Linked DNA regions of Homo sapiens: all the other regions are linked to region 1. The links are contacts of gene promoters, found by promoter capture Hi-C in blood cells and fetal thymus (Javierre and others, 2016). All regions are on one chromosome and are shown on one strand. The core of a region is centred on a gene start or on the middle of the fragment in contact, and the rest is flanking DNA. Distances in the headings are between cores, read along the strand shown.

Region 1 (2,700 bases), core at 149-2,648:
TGGGGCTGCGTGTGTGAGCTGGGCTTCGTGTGTGAGCTGGGGCCTCATGTGTGACGGGTACGTGTGTGAGCTGGGTTGTGTGTGTGACTGGGGTGCGTGTGTGAGGTAGGCTGTGTGACTGGGGTGCATGTGTGAGCTGGGGCGCGTGTAAGCGGGGCTGCGGGTGTGAGGGGCTGCGTGAGCGCGGGGCGCTTTCCTGTGAGGCGTAAGGCATGGAGTGCGTGGGAAGGCCTCGGCGTGTGGGCGGGTCCGGGTGTGTCTGGGTGGCGTGACGCAGGGACGTAGGTGTGCGAAGTGTCGCGGAGGCGTGCGTGTGTGCCGCGTGGGAGCCCGGCGTGGTGGGGCGCCTGCGTTTGCGTTTGACGGCTGGGGGGTGAGCCCGCCGCCCGATGAGTCAGCCTCGGGAGGCTCCAGGACCGCTGAGCTAACGGCCCAGAATGCAGCCCCGCCCCAGAGCCGTGGGTCCCCGGCAGGGCTGTGCGGTCGCCCGGCCAAGTCCCCACTCGAGCCTGCCTCGGCGGAAGCGCTAGCGGGCGACTCGGCCACCCTGCGCCGGCGCCCCTACCCAGCCGCCCGCCCGCACTTCCCTATCCCGGGGGAGCCCGGATGACTTGGGTCAGCCTCCGCTCGGGGAACTCCGCTAGGGATTCCAATAGGGACCGCGCGGGCGTGGCAAGGCGCCCCAGGCGGCCTCCCCGGCCCCCGAGGACGTGGGGCCTTGGGGAGTGCCTGGGAGGCCCCAGGCGGGCTTCCCATCTCCTGGACACCCCCAGGCAGCCCTCCTAGACGCTCAAGACTCTGAGCCGGACTCCGAATCCCTTCCTGGTCCATCAAGGCGGCCGGCCTGGGGACAGGCGGGGAGACGTCACAGGAGATACCCCCGCCCCAAGGTCCTGCTGTGGGCGGAGAGGGGGAGGTGTGGGGCGCTGGAGGACGAAAACCCGCGCGCGCGCTCGCCGCCCGATACCCCGCGAGTGTCCGCCCGGCCGCCTGGGTGCCGGCGGGAGAGTCTGGATAGGGCCAGGATCAGAGTTTCTCCAAGGGGGGGAGAGCGTCACGGCCCCCTCTGGCGGTGGCGTTGGCAGCGGCCGAGGAAGGCAAAAGCAAGAGGCTCACAGGAAAACTCCCCATAACGCTCCTTTCGCCCCCACGCACTCACCTGGGGTGCCCTCTCTCCCCCACGGGTTTCTGCCGAGCTCCCTAGCCTAGAGCTGATCTCAGGGCTCTCGCCAGGCCCCGGGGACTTCCCCTTATCCAGTCCTAGCACCGCAGCGAATGGGACCCGCAAGTGTAGTGGGACGGGGCGCTCTTACCTAGAGGTGGGGGGGGGGCAGGGAGACACTGGTCCCTTAGCCTGGCTCGGCTCGGTCGCGGTGGCCTCAGGCTTAGGAGGACACCGTTGCTTTTCCCCGGGAGCTCGCTAAGTAGGAGGAGAGCGAGCCTGTCCCGCCCCCCTCCCGCCAGTCCCCGCCCCCGTCCCCCGTCCCGTCCGCCTGGCCAGCCAAAGAAGACGCCCTTGTGGGGCTGGAGCCCAAGGTCCCCCCACCCACCCTTTCCCACAGCAGCACCTCCCCCAGCCTGCACAGCGCCCGCTTTGTTCATCTTTGCAGCTGGGCTCTCCACCATCACCACCACCACCACCACCACCACCACCACCACCACCACCACCACCACCACCACCACACATCCCCCTCTCCTCCCACCCTGCCCTCCCGACTCTCCTAGACCACCCTCCACTCCCAGGCTTTAACACGCTTTTGAGAGGGTGTTTTTGACAATCCGTTCTCCCTCCCCCAAACTCTCCCCTCTTTCTTTTTGCCTTAGATGCCTGAAACCTCCACGGGCTCCCACTGAACCTCCCAAATCGAAGCCCCTACAACATGCTCTCAACATCTCCAGAACATCTACTGAGGGTACCCAGGTCTTCTCCCTGTCACCTCCTCCCCTCGCCCTATTCCAAGCCCCACCATGAAGAGCTGTAAATGACATTGATAGCCACGCACATCAGGCTTCACAGACTTTCTTAAGGATAGGCACAAGAAGACTCGTTAAAGTGTCATGCAAACTCCAAAGCACAGGAAAACCGAATGGAATTATCATCTTGCCCCCATGGAGCTCCACACCCCTCCACCCCGACAGACTTGCTGGATTACAGATTGGGAGATGGAGGCAGGCTATAGACATACAATTGAGCACACCAACCTGTAGTAGGAGTGGGAGTTAATAAGGAAGAGAAGGAGGCACTAAACACCTAAAAGCAGCCCCCAAATTGAGCTAGGTTGAAGTCATTCTCCATCTCAACCTCCACTCCGAAATCCAACGCTGACAGTGGATCCTTACCTTGCAAAGCCAGCTCTTGGTCCAGGAGACTGGCTGGGGAGGCCCTAGGGAGCTGAACTCAGCTGGACTGGACTTCTTTGACCTGCACTAGAGGGACCCTGGAGACTCTTCTTCACTGAAGGAAGGAGCAGAAAGCCTGTAAGTCTGGTCTAAATTCCAGCTGGGGTGGATAGCAAAAAATAATTTATCCTCTTTGAGATGGACAAGTGCTGTTCTAATTCAATGAGTTTAGTTTGTGCCGTCTCTCCCTAACCCAGGAACAGCAGGAGGCTGAACTACAGGAATCTCTGGTCACTCATTGACAGGGCTGGCCTTAGCAGGGGACCCCCCACGGCTGGAGACTGAAGCTGACCGGGGCCA
Region 2 (2,700 bases), core at 30-2,529, 450 kb before region 1:
TTGACACAACCCTGGCCCTGACAGCCAGGGTCTTCAAGCGGGCCTTTCTGTGAAGGGTGGCCAGGCATCAACTTAGTAGGAGAGAAAACAGATGACTTATTTCCATCCACACTTAAGGAAAATGCAGTCTCCAAGGACTGCGTACATTTCTTTTTCGAGAAGGAGTCTCGCTGTTGTCGCCCAGGCTGGAGTGCAGTGGCGCAGTCTGGGCTCACAGCAACCTCTGCCTCCCGGATTCAAGCAATTCTCCTGCCTCAGCCTCGTGAGTAGCTGGGATTACAGGCACCCGCCACCACGCCTGGCTAATTTTTGTAGTTTTGGTAGAGACGGGGTTTCACCATGTTGGCCAGGCTGGTCTCGAACTCCTGACCTCCAGTGATTCGCCCGCCTTGGCCTCCCAAAATGCTGGGATTACAGGCGTGAGCCACCGCGCCCGGGCGACTGCGCACATTTCTATGGAGCTGTAAGTTAAAAGAGAAGGCAGTGAGGTGCTTCTGTCATTCTATGACAGAAACAGCTAAAGAGTAGAGAAATGTTCACAAGATTTAATAGAACAGAAATAGGAGAAGGTGCACACAAGCTCAACCAACTATAGCCTCACAAATAAAAGTGTCTTTTGTGTGTAGTACTTAAGTTTGGAATATTCTTTCTTATACAAATGAGTGGGGCTTAACCTAAGAAATCCTGGCCAGATTCTGCGACGAATGCATCGGTTATCTCTGACCCATCAGCAAACATCTTTTTCTGTGGCTTCAGTTTCCTCAGTAAAACAGAGGGGGTTGCGACGGACTCAGTCCGAGGGACAGCCATTCTCCAACGTCTATCCAAAGCCTAGGGCACCTCAATACTAACCGGCAGGCCAGCGCCCCCTCCGCGGGGCTGCGGACAGGACGCCTGTTATTCCATTCCTCGGCCGGGCTCTACAGGTGACCGGAAGAAGAGCCCCGAGTGCGGGACTGCAGTGCGCCCGACCTGCTCTAGGCGCAGGTCACTCCCGAACCCCGGCAGCAAAGCATCCAGCGCCGGAAAAGGTCCCGCGGTCGCCCCGGGGCCGGCGCTGGGGAGGAAGGAGTGGAGCGCGCTGGCCCCGTGACGTGGTCCAATCCCAGGCCGACGCCGGCTGCTTCTGCCCAACCGGTGGCTGGTCCCCTCCGCCGCCCCATTACAAGGCTGGCAAAGGGAGGGGGCGGGGCCTGGGACGTGGTCCAATGAGTACGCGCGCCGGGGCGGCGGGGGCGGGGCCGGGCGCGCAGCGCAGGGCCGGGCGGCCGAGGCTCCAATGAGCGCGCGCCGCGTCCGGGGCCGGCTGGTGCGCGAGACGCCGCCGAGAGGTTGGTGGCTAATGTAACAGTTTGCAAACCGAGAGGAGTTGTGAAGGGCGCGGGTGGGGGGCGCTGCCGGCCTCGTGGGTACGTTCGTGCCGCGTCTGTCCCAGAGCTGGGGCCGCAGGAGCGGAGGCAAGAGGTAGCGGGGGTGGATGGAGGTGCGGGCCGGCCACCCCTCCTAGGGGAGACAGCGTGCGAGCTCCGGGGGCGGGTCGGGAGCGCAAGGGAGGGCCGCGCGGACGCCGGGCGCTCGGCCTCGCACCGGGGGGCACGCAGCTCGGCCCCCGGTCTGTCCCCACTTGCTGGGGCGGGCCGGGATCCGTTTCCGGGAGTGGGAGCCGCCGCCTTCGTCAGGTGGGGTTTAGGTGAACACCGGGTAACGGCTACCCGCCGGGCGGGGAACCTTACCGCCCCTGGCACTGCGTCTGTGGGCACAGCGGGGCCGGGGAGTGAGCTGGGAAAGGGGAGGGGGCGGGACAACCCGCAGGGATGCCGAGGAGGAGATAGGCCTTTCCTTCATCCTAGCTACCCCCAACGTCATTACCTTTCTCTTCCCGTCCAGGCCCAGCTGGCTTTCCCCGTCAGCGGGGGAGCTCCAGGTGTGGGGAGGTGGTTGAGCCCTGGGCGGGGATCCCTGGCCGCACCCCAGGTGTCTGACAACAGGCACAGTGCTGCGGTGCGCCACTCACTGCCTGTGTGGTGGACAAAAGGCTCGGGTCTCCTTTCTCTTGTCCTGTTAGCTTCTCTGTTTAGGGATGTGGCAAAGCCGAGGACCCATGCTCTTTCACTTGGGCCTTTGTGTGGGCGCTGCTGGGATGATTAGAGAATGGTTTGTACCCATCAGGAGGGAGAAGGGGAGAAGTAGGCTGATCTGCCCTGGGTAAGAATGAAGTAGATATGAATCTTACAGCCTCTCCGTTCTGGGATGTGATTCTGTCTCCTTCACTCCGGGTATCCAGTTTTAAGTGTTTTCTTTCTTCGCCTCCCCCAGGGGCACTATGGCAGACAAAGTTAGGAGGCAGAGGCCGAGGAGGCGAGTCTGTTGGGCCTTGGTGGCTGTGCTCTTGGCAGACCTGTTGGCACTGAGTGGTATGTACCCCAGTAGAGGGAGCAAATGGATAAATGATGACTGAAGGATGCATGATGGGAATTGAGCTTGGGGCTGTTGGCCAGAAGTCTCTTGAGTTGTTAGGTCCAGGCCTTTTTGTCTTTTGCCATCTTCGTTTACCCATGGAAAGTGGTATGCTTTGATTAGAGGGAGTCCCAGGAAGGTGGGCGAAGGGAGAGCTAACTGACAAACCTCTTTTCCCTTCAGATACACTGGCAGTGATGTCTGTGGACCTGGGCAGTGAGTCCATGAAGGTGGCCATTGTCA
Region 3 (2,700 bases), core at 76-2,575, 470 kb after region 1:
GGCATTTGAAAGTTGTGTTCTGAGCAAGACAGATGCGACGAGATGGCTTCCCATTGGAACAGAGAGGGTGATGGTAACCACGAGATGCAGAGAATGGAGAACTCCTCTGCCCCTATTTGCTGAAACATTCTGCTCTGCTGAGAAGAGGGAATTCTGCTGTAAAGGGCAGAACTTACTCTAGAAAGAGGGGATGGAAGTTGGAGGTAGGGAGGGGCCATACAGGTAGCAGCGCTGGGGCTGGGGAGCAGGGGAGGACCCCAGAACTGGGTTGTCGATGAAGAGCTCAAGGGTTGTCTGCCTGCCTTGTGGCCAGAGGCTGTGAGGGTTTTGGTGATCGTGAGAGGGGCTAAAAGCGTGGAGCTTAATTAGGTTCTGTTTTTCATAACCAGTCTTACTATCAATGGATGGAGAACAAATTTGTCAATATATGGTTTAAAAGCACTTAGAAAAGACAACGGTGGTCCTTCAGAGCCACAGTGGGTTCATCAAAAACAAGACATGCTAAGCTGGATGTGTGTGCCTGAAGTCCCAGCTCCCTGGGGGGCTGAGGCAGGAGGATGCTTTGAGCCCAGGAGTTTGAGTCCAGCCTGGGCAACTTAGCAAGAGCTCGTCTCTTAAAAAAAAAAAGAAAAAAGAAAAAAAAAAAAGGAATGCTAGATGTCTCCTGATAAGGCACTGGCAGAACAGGAGATTGCTCTGGAAAATACCACTTCCTGTCATTCATCAAATGCCTACCATATGTTAGGAATTCCACCAGGCAATTTTATACACTACCCATAATTATTATTTTACAATTGAGCAAAGTGAGGCTCAGAGTAGTGAAGTGACTTGCCCAAGGCCACACAGCTAGTAAGTGATAGAGCTGGGATTTGAACTGTGACTAATTTGGCTTCAAAGCTTAAACCATTGCCAGGATGTTCTACTGACTCACTGGGCATATCTAGAGTTCATTCATTTATCTGTTCATTTTGTGGCTGTTTTTGAGGCACTGTGCCAGATGCTATAGGAAATTATGGAAGGAATGAGATTCTGCCTTTAACTAAAGAAGACAAGATACAAATAAATGTGTATACAAATAAATGTAATACAAGGTAGAGGGGATCAGTGCCAGCAAAGAGGTTTGATACGATGCTGCTGTGGGGGTTCAGGGCAGGGTGAAATTCTGGGAAGGATTTCTGGCTGAATGGGTGTTTGTGGCAGGCCTTGCAAGATTAATATAACTTAAGCCCTGGGGAGAGTAAAGGGAAGATTCTTCCAGATGGAGGCACCACTGAGAGCCAAGGCAGAGAGTCTGGGAAGTGGGCTTGTCTGGAGAACAAGCCTTTTGTTTGTTGAGAGAGCTGTATGGTGAGGTGGTGGGGAGGAGAATAAAAGCCTGCAGAAGGGGTTGGGGACAGACACTTGGGGACCTGGGAGTCGAGGCTGTGATTGACTTCCGACGGCAGGGGAGCTGGCGAGGGCTTGCAGGGCCCTGGCACGATCAGAGAGCACAGAAGAAAGGATCTGGCCATGGTGGGCGGAGGGATTGGGTGGAAGAGCCTGGGGGCAGGGGACAGACCGTAGGGAAGCCTGAGGGAGGTCCTTGGAGTGGCGGGGAATGCCTGCATTACAGCAGAGACAGTGGCTTCTCAAGAACAGGGAGGTACTGGACAACATCTCACCATTGATTCTGAAACGTGGGTGCTGTTTCCTCTGTCTGGAATTTACCCTCTCTCTTTTCCTGCTCATCTTTCTTGGTTTCAAAGAAGCTTGGAAGTTTAAGGTATACTTCCAAAAAGCTTCCCTGACTCCTATGAGGAGGCTTCCTAGGTTGGGTCCCTCCTTCCTACATCCCCCATCCTGTTATTTACCACAGTGTGTCACAATCACTTGTTTAATGTCACATGCCCTAGGAGAGTGCACGTTTCCGACACAGTGCCTGGTACCCAGTAGGTTCTCAGTAGAGAATTATGGACTGCGTGGAATACAGTTCGGTGGGTCGTAATTGGCTGGGTTAACTATGCCTTAGGTACAGAGACAGAAAGAAAGAAAGAGAGAGAGACAGAGAGAGAGAGATGGATCCATCCGAATAGAGGTCTTTAGTGTATTCCACAGGGCTCCACCTGTTCATTGTTATTACTAACATTTGAAGTACACTAGGGATGTCACATTTATCAACTTCCAGAAGCCTAGTAACTATGTTGGAAGAAAAAGGGATCTAGGAAGATCTTGATAGGCTGGAGCTAGGAACTAGGTATTGCAAGATGAAATTAATGAGGACAAAATATTCAGTCCTTCCCAAAGGCCTCAAACCCAGCTGCCCAAGCCCAGGGTGAGGGTAGGATGTAGTTTGGCTGTAGCAGCTGTGAAAAACTTGGCCATTTTCATGAGCAGAAAGCTCAGAGGGATGCAGGTGCTCCCTGGGGAGTTCTGTGTGCCCAGCCTGGGCGCTGCTGTGGAGGAGGGACACACTGAAGTTGGAGCATGTCCAGCTCAGAGCGGTCAGGGTGGAACGCCTCCCGGGAGGTGTCTTCCCATCTCACCATCTCTCCTTCCTCCTGTCTTCTGCTCCGTCCCACCAAACTCTGCCTAGACCTGTCACCCTTGAAGCCAAACCCACTGCCTGCTCTGCCCCTTCCATGGACTCTGTTCTTCCCTTAATACCTCTAGTCACGGAGAGCTCAGGGAGGAAGGCCTGGGGGGCCCTGGGGAGAGGGACTC
Region 4 (2,700 bases), core at 129-2,628, 440 kb after region 1:
GCGGGGCCCTGACCTTTCCCACCCACCTACTCTCTGCGGCATTTGCTCAGGGCACTTTGGGGAGGCCAGGCCCTCCTGAGGATGGGAGCAACCATTTGTGCTGCATAGAAGGAATCCATTTTCTTCCCTCTAGTCCTCAAGAACCTGGGAACATGTCCCAGAGAGTCCTGGTAATGATACAGAATATAATCCCAGTCTTAATAATGGGGCTTGGTGTGATGGCTCACACCTGTAATCACAGCGCTTTGGGAGGCTGAGGCAGGCAGATAGCTTGAGCTCAGGAGCTCGAGACCAGCCTGGGCAACATGGCAAAACTCCATCTCTACAGAAAATGCAAAAATTAGCTGGGCATGGTGGCTTGCACCTATACTCCCAGCTACTTGGGAGGCTGAGGTGAGAGGATCATCTGAGCCCAGCAGGTAGAGGCTGCAGTGAATCATGATTGTGCCACTGCACTCCAGCTTGGGCAACAGAGCAAGACCCTGTTTCAAATGACAACAACAGCAATAATAATGATGGTGATGATGGCAGCTTTCATTTATTGGGCACCTCTATGTCTCAGTCATAGGGCTAAGCTCTGTTTATGCATTATCTCATCCTCATGAAAACCTTTGAGGGAGGTACTATTATTAAGCCCATTTTACATGTTAGAAAACTGAGGTTAGAGAGGATAAGTTACTTAAGGTCACGCAATTCGTAAGTTGTACAATTAGGACTCAAATTTGGGTCTGTTTGATCTTAAAGTTCATGCTCTTAAATACTTCATCACACTAGCTCCTCTGGGGGCTTTGGGTGTCCTGGGATTTGGAGGTGGCGGCGCTTCAGGGTCAGTCACTGGATTGCTTTTCGGCTTTGCTAAAGTCCTGTCTGTGGAGGAGAGTAAAGTCAGGATGGTTCCACGCATGCCACGGGTAGTGGGGTGATGGGGGAGGCCCCTTTCCCAGCCCTGGTGCTCAGTGGCTCTGCTTCCTTTCCAGAGCCCCCTGAGCGGGACTCCACGGTGGCCGTGATTGTGGGTGCCTCCGTCGGGGGCTTCCTGGCTGTGGTCATCTTGGTGCTGATGGTGGTCAAGTGTGTGAGGAGAAAAAAAGAGCAGAAGCTGAGCACAGATGACCTGAAGACCGAGGAGGAGGGCAAGACGGACGGTGAAGGCAACCCGGATGATGGCGCCAAGTAGTGGGTGGCCGGCCCTGCAGCCTCCCGTGTCCCGTCTCCTCCCCTCTCCGCCCTGTACAGTGACCCTGCCTGCTCGCTCTTGGTGTGCTTCCCGTGACCTAGGACCCCAGGGCCCACCTGGGGCCTCCTGAACCCCCGACTTCGTATCTCCCACCCTGCACCAAGAGTGACCCACTCTCTTCCATCCGAGAAACCTGCCATGCTCTGGGACGTGTGGGCCCTGGGGAGAGGAGAGAAAGGGCTCCCACCTGCCAGTCCCTGGGGGGAGGCAGGAGGCACATGTGAGGGTCCCCAGAGAGAAGGGAGTGGGTGGGCAGGGGTAGAGGAGGGGGCCGCTGTCCACCTGCCCAGTGCTTGGCCTGGCAGTGGCTTCAGAGAGGACCTGGTGGGGAGGGAGGGCTTTCCTGTGCTGACAGCGCTCCCTCAGGAGGGCCTTGGCCTGGCACGGCTGTGCTCCTCCCCTGCTCCCAGCCCAGAGCAGCCATCAGGCTGGAGGTGACGATGAGTTCCTGAAACTTGGAGGGGCATGTTAAAGGGATGACTGTGCATTCCAGGGCACTGACGGAAAGCCAGGGCTGCAGGCAAAGCTGGACATGTGCCCTGGCCCAGGAGGCCATGTTGGGCCCTCGTTTCCATTGCTAGTGGCCTCCTTGGGGCTCCCGTTGGCTCCTAATCCCTTAGGACTGTGGATGAGGCCAGACTGGAAGAGCAGCTCCAGGTAGGGGGCCATGTTTCCCAGCGGGGACCCACCAACAGAGGCCAGTTTCAAAGTCAGCTGAGGGGCTGAGGGGTGGGGCTCCATGGTGAATGCAGGTTGCTGCAGGCTCTGCCTTCTCCATGGGGTAACCACCCTCGCCTGGGCAGGGGCAGCCAAGGCTGGGAAATGAGGAGGCCATGCACAGGGTGGGGCAGCTTTCTTTGGGGCTTCAGTGAGAACTCTCCCAGTTGCCCTTGGTGGGGTTTCCACCTGGCTTTTGGCTACAGAGAGGGAAGGGAAAGCCTGAGGCCGGCATAAGGGGAGGCCTTGGAACCTGAGCTGCCAATGCCAGCCCTGTCCCATCTGCAGCCACACTACTCGCTCCTCTCCCAACAACTCCCTTCGTGGGGACAAAAGTGACAATTGTAGGCCAGGCACAGTGGCTCACGCCTGTAATCCCAGCACTTTGGGAGGCCAAGGCGGGTGGATTACCTCCATCTGTTTAGTAGAAATGGGCAAAACCCCATCTCTACTAAAAATACAAGAATTAGCTGGGCGTGGTGGCGTGTGCCTGTAATCCCAGCTATTTGGGAGGCTGAGGCAGGAGAATCGCTTGAGCCCGGGAAGCAGAGGTTGCAGTGAACTGAGATAGTGATAGTGCCACTGCAATTCAGCCTGGGTGACATAGAGAGACTCCATCTCAAAAAAAAAAAAAAAAAAAAAAAAAGGCAATTGTGCGGAGCCAACCATCACTGCCATTACACTCACATTCAATGGAAATTGATTAGGCCTGAGAGAAGGAGCAAGAGGCAGAAACACTGACTCTG
Region 5 (2,700 bases), core at 53-2,552, 300 kb before region 1:
CACATCAGACTGCACCATTGTAGAAACTTTGTGAGTTTTATTTATTTATTGTTTAGAGACAGGGTCTCTCTCTGACACCCAGGCTGGAGTGCAGTGGTGTGATCACAGCTCACTGCAACCTCAAACTCCTGAGCTCAAGTGATCCTCCCATCTCAGACTCCCAAGTAGCTGGGGCTCAGGCATGTATCACACCTGGCTAATTTTTGTAGAGACAGTCTTGCCATGTTGCCCAGGCTGATCTTGAACTCCTGGTCTCAAGCGATCCTCATGCCTTGGCCTCCCAAAGTGCTGGAATTACAGGAGTGAGCCACTGTGCCTGGCAAACATAGGGAAATACAAAGTAGAAATTGCTAACATCCCATACTCAAGGCGACTATTTTAGTCGTACTACCCTTAGATTCTTTTATTTATTTATTTATTTATTTATTTTTGAATCGGAGTTTCACTCTTGTTGCCCAGGCTGGAGTGCAATGGCACGAACTCGGCTTACTGCAACCTCTGCCTCCTGAGTTCAAGCGATTTTCCTGCCTCAGCCTCCCGAGTAGCTGGGATTACAGGCACCTGCCACCACGCCTGGCTAATTTTTGTATTTTTAGCAGAGGTGGAGTTTTAGCATGTTGGCCAGACCGGTCCTGAACTCCTGACCTCAGGTGATACACCTGCCTCAGCCCCCCAAAGTGCTGGGATTACAGGCGTGAGCCACCCGGCCTGATTCTTTTTTTTTTTTTTTTTTTTTGAGACAGAGTCTCACTCACTCTGTTGCCCAGGCTGGAGTGCAGTGGCACAATCTCGGCTCACTGCAACCTCCACCTCCTGGGTTCAAGTAATTCTCCTGCTTCAGCCTCCCAAGTAGCTGGGATTACAGGCATGCGTCACCACGCCTGGCTAATTTTTGTATTTTTAGTAGAGATGGAGTTTCACCATTATGGCCAGGCTGGTCTTGAACTCCTGCCCTCAAGTGATCCGCCCGCCTCGGCCTCCCAAAGTGTTAGGATTACAGGCATAAGCCACCGTGCCCGGCCTGCCCTTAGATTCTTGAAGAGTTCTTACTGGAGGGGCGATAGAACGTAGACATTGACAGGACTAGTTCTGCCATCAGGCTGCCTTCGTTTGCAACCCAGGTTATTTCTGTAAATTTGGGAAAGGGCCTCAGTTTCCTCATCTGTAAAAGTATTATTTATCTCATAGGGTTGGTATGAGGAGTAAATGAGGTTATACATGTAACATGTTAGCTTTTATCATTGTTATTGTACTAGAAAGTTCCTTGTTGGACTAAGCCCTGCCTGTCTCCCCATAGCTCGTATCCAAGAGCTACTCAGCAGCCTTCACACATTGAGGTCAGCTCTCAAGCTCCCCCGCAAATTTCTGGCTCTGCTCTTCTATGTAAAATTGGATAGATAGGGTCCAGAGCAGGGCCGTTTTGGGGTGGGTCCATCAGAGAAGAAGGTGCAGAAGAAACTTTTTCCAAAGAGGGCAGCCTGACACTGGGCCCATGGGAAGGTGGTCACTGCCCTGGCTGGATGGAGACAACTTCAGGCAATCTGTCTCCCATTAACTGAGAATGCTGGTACTTACTGTCTGCGGGCCAGGAACTGTGACTTGCTTTTCTTGGCATGCGAATGGGTCTACCCACTCACCTAGACCCGTTGTAGATTTTTTTCTACGCTAAGACTTACAGTCAAGTGTCTAACCATGGAACAAAACTTCCCTTGGTGCTGAGGGCAGCTGGTCTGTCTTGAGAGTGTTTCCAGTATGTCAGCTTTTTCTAACTGTTTTTTCTTTCTTATTTTTATTTATTTATTTATTTTTTTGAGACAGTCTCGCTCTGTCGCCCTGGCTAGAGTGCAATGGTGTGATCTCGGCTCACTGCAACTTCCACCTCCTAAGTTCAAGCAATTCTCATGTCTCAGCCTCCTGAGTAGCGGGATTACAGCCATGCGCCACCATGCCCAGTTAATTTTTGTATTTTTAGTAGAGACGGGGTTTCACCATGTTGGCCAGGCTGGTCTTGAACTCATGACCTCAGGTGATCCGCCCGCCTCTACCGCCCAAACTGCTGGGATTACAGGCGTGAGACACCGCTCCCGGCTCTCTGTTTTTCAAATGGATTTTTTTAGTCTGTGACATTGATTTAAACTTACTGTTAAAAAATATATTTCTTTGGCCTGCCCCCTGTGCAAGGAGGAGGTTAGTATTTTACATTTTATAGATGAAGAAACCGAGGCTTAGAGGGATGTCTGGTTCATAAAATCACAAAGTCAGTTAGTGGTGGGGCTAGAGTGAAAAACCATCCATCATTTGGATCATCAGCTTGTGTACCCTCTCTGCCTTCTCCCTAACTGGGTCACTAGACTGTGTGCACATACACTTACCCAGTGAGAGGGGCAGCAGCTCAGAGCGGAGCTTCAGAGTCCCGGCCCTGGGTTCAGTTCTGGCTCTGCACTAACTGGCTGTGTAACTGTGGGTGAGGAACTTATTTCCTCCTTTGTTAAGTGGAGTGTGTGACACGTTCCTCCCAGGGTGTGTTGATGAGATGAAATCACACCTGTTAAGTCCCCAGCAGAATGCCAGGCCCATGGGAGCCTGTGGAGAGGACACATTTTCTCTGTCCCTGCTCTCCACATGGTCACCACTCTTGCCATCGTGGAAACCAGCCTGGTGAGAACACCAGATACTGACATCAAATGTCCCTGTGGGCAC
Region 6 (2,700 bases), core at 201-2,700, 420 kb before region 1:
CTGGCTAATTTTGGTATTTTTAGTAGAGACAGGGTTTCACCATGTTGGCCAGGCTGGTCTCGAACTCCTGACTTCAAGTGATCTGCCCGCCTTGGCCTCCCAATGTGCTGGGATTACAAGCATGAGCCATCGCGTCCGGCCTGTCATCCTATTTTATCTCATCTCCTCCTCCTCCCTTCCCTGACCATCTTCTCTGGAGTAAAAGATCTTTGCTCTCAATTTTGGAACACTTACAATTCCTTCAGCCACTCTTGTTAGGAAGATATAAGGGAAGAGAGCGAGAGACAGGAGGCAACTCAACGGCCAAACAGGTTTATTCACAGGAATAAGCCTGCAAGGAGTTCCAGTCAGGAGTCTGGCTGAGACCCTGATCGCTTACAAGCTGAGGCTTTTATAATATCGTTTCTATTGGGGAGAGGTCGGGAAGTGCTGGCTGATTGGGACTGTTGGGGACTTTGTTAGGCTATGTTACCTTCTGTTGAAGCTATGGGCAGGGTTAACATTTGCTCTGTTTCTGAGAACACAGTCATCATTGTTGTAAAATAGCATCACTACTGTTACTCCTCACAACTCTTAACTGGGATCAGTGAAAACCATTGTTGTTGAGAACTCTTATAGAATTTCTGAGCTCTTATCTAAATCATCTGTTGAGTCTTCACAATGATCTACCAGGCTGGTAGGAAACGGGAGCTCATAGAGATTAACCAAGGTCATACAGTTAGAATGCTGTGGGTCTAGGACTAGAATTTGATATTTACTCCAGGCCCCGTCTCTGTCCCCAACAATCTAACCACAAGTTAAAATTCCAAATTGTGGGCTGGGCGCGGTGGCTCACGCCTGTAATCCCAGCACTTTGGGAGGCCGAGGTGAGCGGATCACGAGGTCAGGAGATCGAGACCATCCTGGCAAACACGGTGAAACCCCGTCTCTACTAAAAATACAAAAAATTACCCGGGCGTGGTGGTGGGCGCCCGTAGTCCCAGCTACTCGGGAGGCTGAGGCAGGAGAATGGTGTGAACCCGGGAGGAGGAGCTTGCAGTGAGCCGAAATCGCGCCACTGCACTCCAGCCTGGGCGACTGAGCGAGACTGTTTCAAAAAAAAAAAAAAAGAAAAAAAGAAAATACTGTGTGTTCCTACAACACCTTTCCCAGACTGTGAGCAACTTGGGAACAATGATTATCACCTTAGTGTTCGGTGTGTTTTGTAGAGGAGGGCACTCACTAAAAACTGGTTTGTTGAATGCAACCACTTAAGAATTGGACATGCCGTGCCCAGCCCCTAAGGGGCGCTATGCTCGTTCGTCCAAGGAGCAGCGTGACCAGCGGGAGGGAGTAAGTCGACGTCCCCGGCATGTGGGGCGGGGAACTCCACTGGCCGGCAAGCGAAGCAGCAGGCGAAGACCACGCCCCCGCCGGCCGCGCTTGCGCAGCCTTCGCTAGCCCCGCCCCGTCCTATTCGGGCTCCCGCCTCTGTTCAGGTAGGAGGCGGTATGCGGGGGAGGGGAGTCACCTGAGGGCGGGGATCTCAGGTCTTGGGGAGCCATTGTTGGCGAACCCCAACTTCCGATACGACCCGGAGCTGTTCCTGCAGTTCCAGAGACAATTCATGGGTCTTGGGGCCACCGAGGCGCTGTCCCTGACCACCAGCACGAGACCCCTTTCTATCGCGCCAGTCCTGTGGTCTCCGCACCTCTCCAGCTCCTGCACCCCCGGCCCCCGTGGTTCCCAGCCGCACAGTAGCGTGTCCTGGGTAGCGTGAGGACCCACGGGGCTGGGCAGGTGCCACGAGCCCGCCGCCTCTTCGCCGCCCGCCGCCTCTCCTCCTCTCCCGCCCGCCGCCTGGCCCTCCCCTACCAGGCTGAGCCTCTGGGTGCCAGAAGCGCGGGGCCTCCGGGAGAATACGTGCGGTCGCCCGCTCCGCGTGCGCCTACGCCTTCTGCTCCAGTTGCTTTCCCAATTGAGCGGAAAAGCCGGGGCATGTTGCCGGGGCCCTGGGCGGGACGGTTGTGCCCTGCAGCCCGAAGCCCGCCGGGGCACCTTCCCGCCCACGAGCTGCCCAGTCCCTCTGCTTGCGGCCCCTGCCAACGTCCCACAGGTTGGAAACCAGACCCTGCAGCCCCCAGCTAGCCCGAAGGAAGCCCAGACTGACGTCGCAGGGTAATGGGGACCCAGAGGTAGCTCTGTGGGGCCCCATCAGGACCTCAGCCCTTAGCGGGGCTTTCTGTGTGACACCGTGGGACCTGAACTGGGGAGGTCCCCCTTGCACAGAATTACAAGGGGCAACTGTAGGAAACAATTAAATCTATTATGTGCTAAGTATTGAGAGTTCCACGGATTGAGGCCCTCTCTAGAAGGCTTAGAAGTGGGGTAGCCGGGGTATGTGTCTGACTTTGTGTTTTGGTGCGGTGGTGGTGAGTGGGTGTAGAAACTAATAGTGCCAAGTGCAGTGCCTGTCAACTAGTAAGTTAATAAACCTTCCGTGAATGAATGAGAAGGTTCTGTGACTGAGGGAGCAGGGCTAGAGAGGGCATCTCTGCTCATCCCACCCCTGCCTCCCCTGGGCTCAGGCAGACAAAAGTAATTAGGTTGAACCTTTAATCAAAGCTGGTTTCACAGGCAAGCAGACATGATAGAGGAGGTAAAGGCAGAAATCCTGGGGACACAGGGTGCTGGCCTGGCTCACAGGCATGCCTCCTTCCG

The links. Contacts are between HindIII fragments. The CHiCAGO score rates a contact against its expected background, and 5 or more counts as called.
Region 2: the fragment with the promoter of HYOU1 here is called in contact with the fragment with the promoter of PHLDB1 in region 1 in 1 of 17 cell types (total CD4 T cells); the score reaches 5.8 in total CD4 T cells.
Region 3: a fragment that was not itself captured here is called in contact with the fragment with the promoter of PHLDB1 in region 1 in 8 of 17 cell types (naive CD4 T cells, naive CD8 T cells, total CD4 T cells and 5 more); the score reaches 8.1 in naive CD4 T cells.
Region 4: a contact is called between a fragment that was not itself captured here and the fragment with the promoter of PHLDB1 in region 1, in 1 of 17 cell types (total CD8 T cells). The highest score is 5.4, in total CD8 T cells.
Region 5: a contact is called between a fragment that was not itself captured here and the fragment with the promoter of PHLDB1 in region 1, in 1 of 17 cell types (naive CD4 T cells). The highest score is 5.1, in naive CD4 T cells.
Region 6: a contact is called between the fragment with the promoter of SLC37A4 here and the fragment with the promoter of PHLDB1 in region 1, in 3 of 17 cell types (non-activated CD4 T cells, naive CD8 T cells and naive CD4 T cells). The highest score is 6.8, in non-activated CD4 T cells.

Annotation. Positions count from the first base shown.
Region 1 is chr11:118,606,313-118,609,012 of GRCh38, reverse strand. PHLDB1 (pleckstrin homology like domain family B member 1) reads right to left here and starts at 1,398. Exons shown (of 23, transcript NM_001144758.3): 1 at 1,314-1,398. It overlaps LOC124902765 (a long non-coding RNA gene), which reads left to right and starts at 502. Exons shown (of 2, transcript XR_007062908.1): 1 at 502-890; 2 at 1,825-2,700. RefSeq lists enhancers at 1-227, 265-559 and silencers at 687-756, 817-906. The HindIII fragment of the contact is 8,144 bases long and covers 1-2,700 here.
Region 2 is chr11:119,055,784-119,058,483 of GRCh38, reverse strand. It overlaps HYOU1 (hypoxia up-regulated 1), which reads left to right and starts at 1,279. Exons shown (of 26, transcript NM_006389.5): 1 at 1,279-1,464; 2 at 2,317-2,414; 3 at 2,641-2,700. The coding sequence starts at 2,324. RefSeq lists enhancers at 772-821, 1,181-1,680, 1,681-2,181 and silencers at 1,052-1,331, 1,422-1,701. The HindIII fragment of the contact is 24,437 bases long and covers 1-2,700 here.
Region 3 is chr11:118,137,836-118,140,535 of GRCh38, reverse strand. All of the region lies in intron 4 of SCN4B (sodium voltage-gated channel beta subunit 4), which reads left to right. Among named protein-coding and RNA genes, the nearest start is that of SCN4B, 14 kb to the left of the region's middle. The HindIII fragment of the contact is 851 bases long and covers 900-1,750 here.
Region 4 is chr11:118,165,364-118,168,063 of GRCh38, reverse strand. It overlaps SCN2B (sodium voltage-gated channel beta subunit 2), which reads left to right. Exons shown (of 4, transcript NM_004588.5): 4 at 978-2,700. The coding sequence ends at 1,177. Among named protein-coding and RNA genes, the nearest start is that of SCN2B, 9.9 kb to the left of the region's middle. The HindIII fragment of the contact is 6,967 bases long and covers 1-2,700 here.
Region 5 is chr11:118,903,549-118,906,248 of GRCh38, reverse strand. The region is part of intron 5 of BCL9L (BCL9 like); the gene reads left to right. Among named protein-coding and RNA genes, the nearest start is that of MIR4492, 5.8 kb to the left of the region's middle. The HindIII fragment of the contact is 3,900 bases long and covers 1-2,700 here.
Region 6 is chr11:119,029,627-119,032,326 of GRCh38, reverse strand. It overlaps SLC37A4 (solute carrier family 37 member 4), which reads left to right and starts at 1,450. Exons shown (of 10, transcript NM_001467.6): 1 at 1,450-1,478. RefSeq lists a silencer at 1,836-1,995. The HindIII fragment of the contact is 18,338 bases long and covers 1-2,700 here.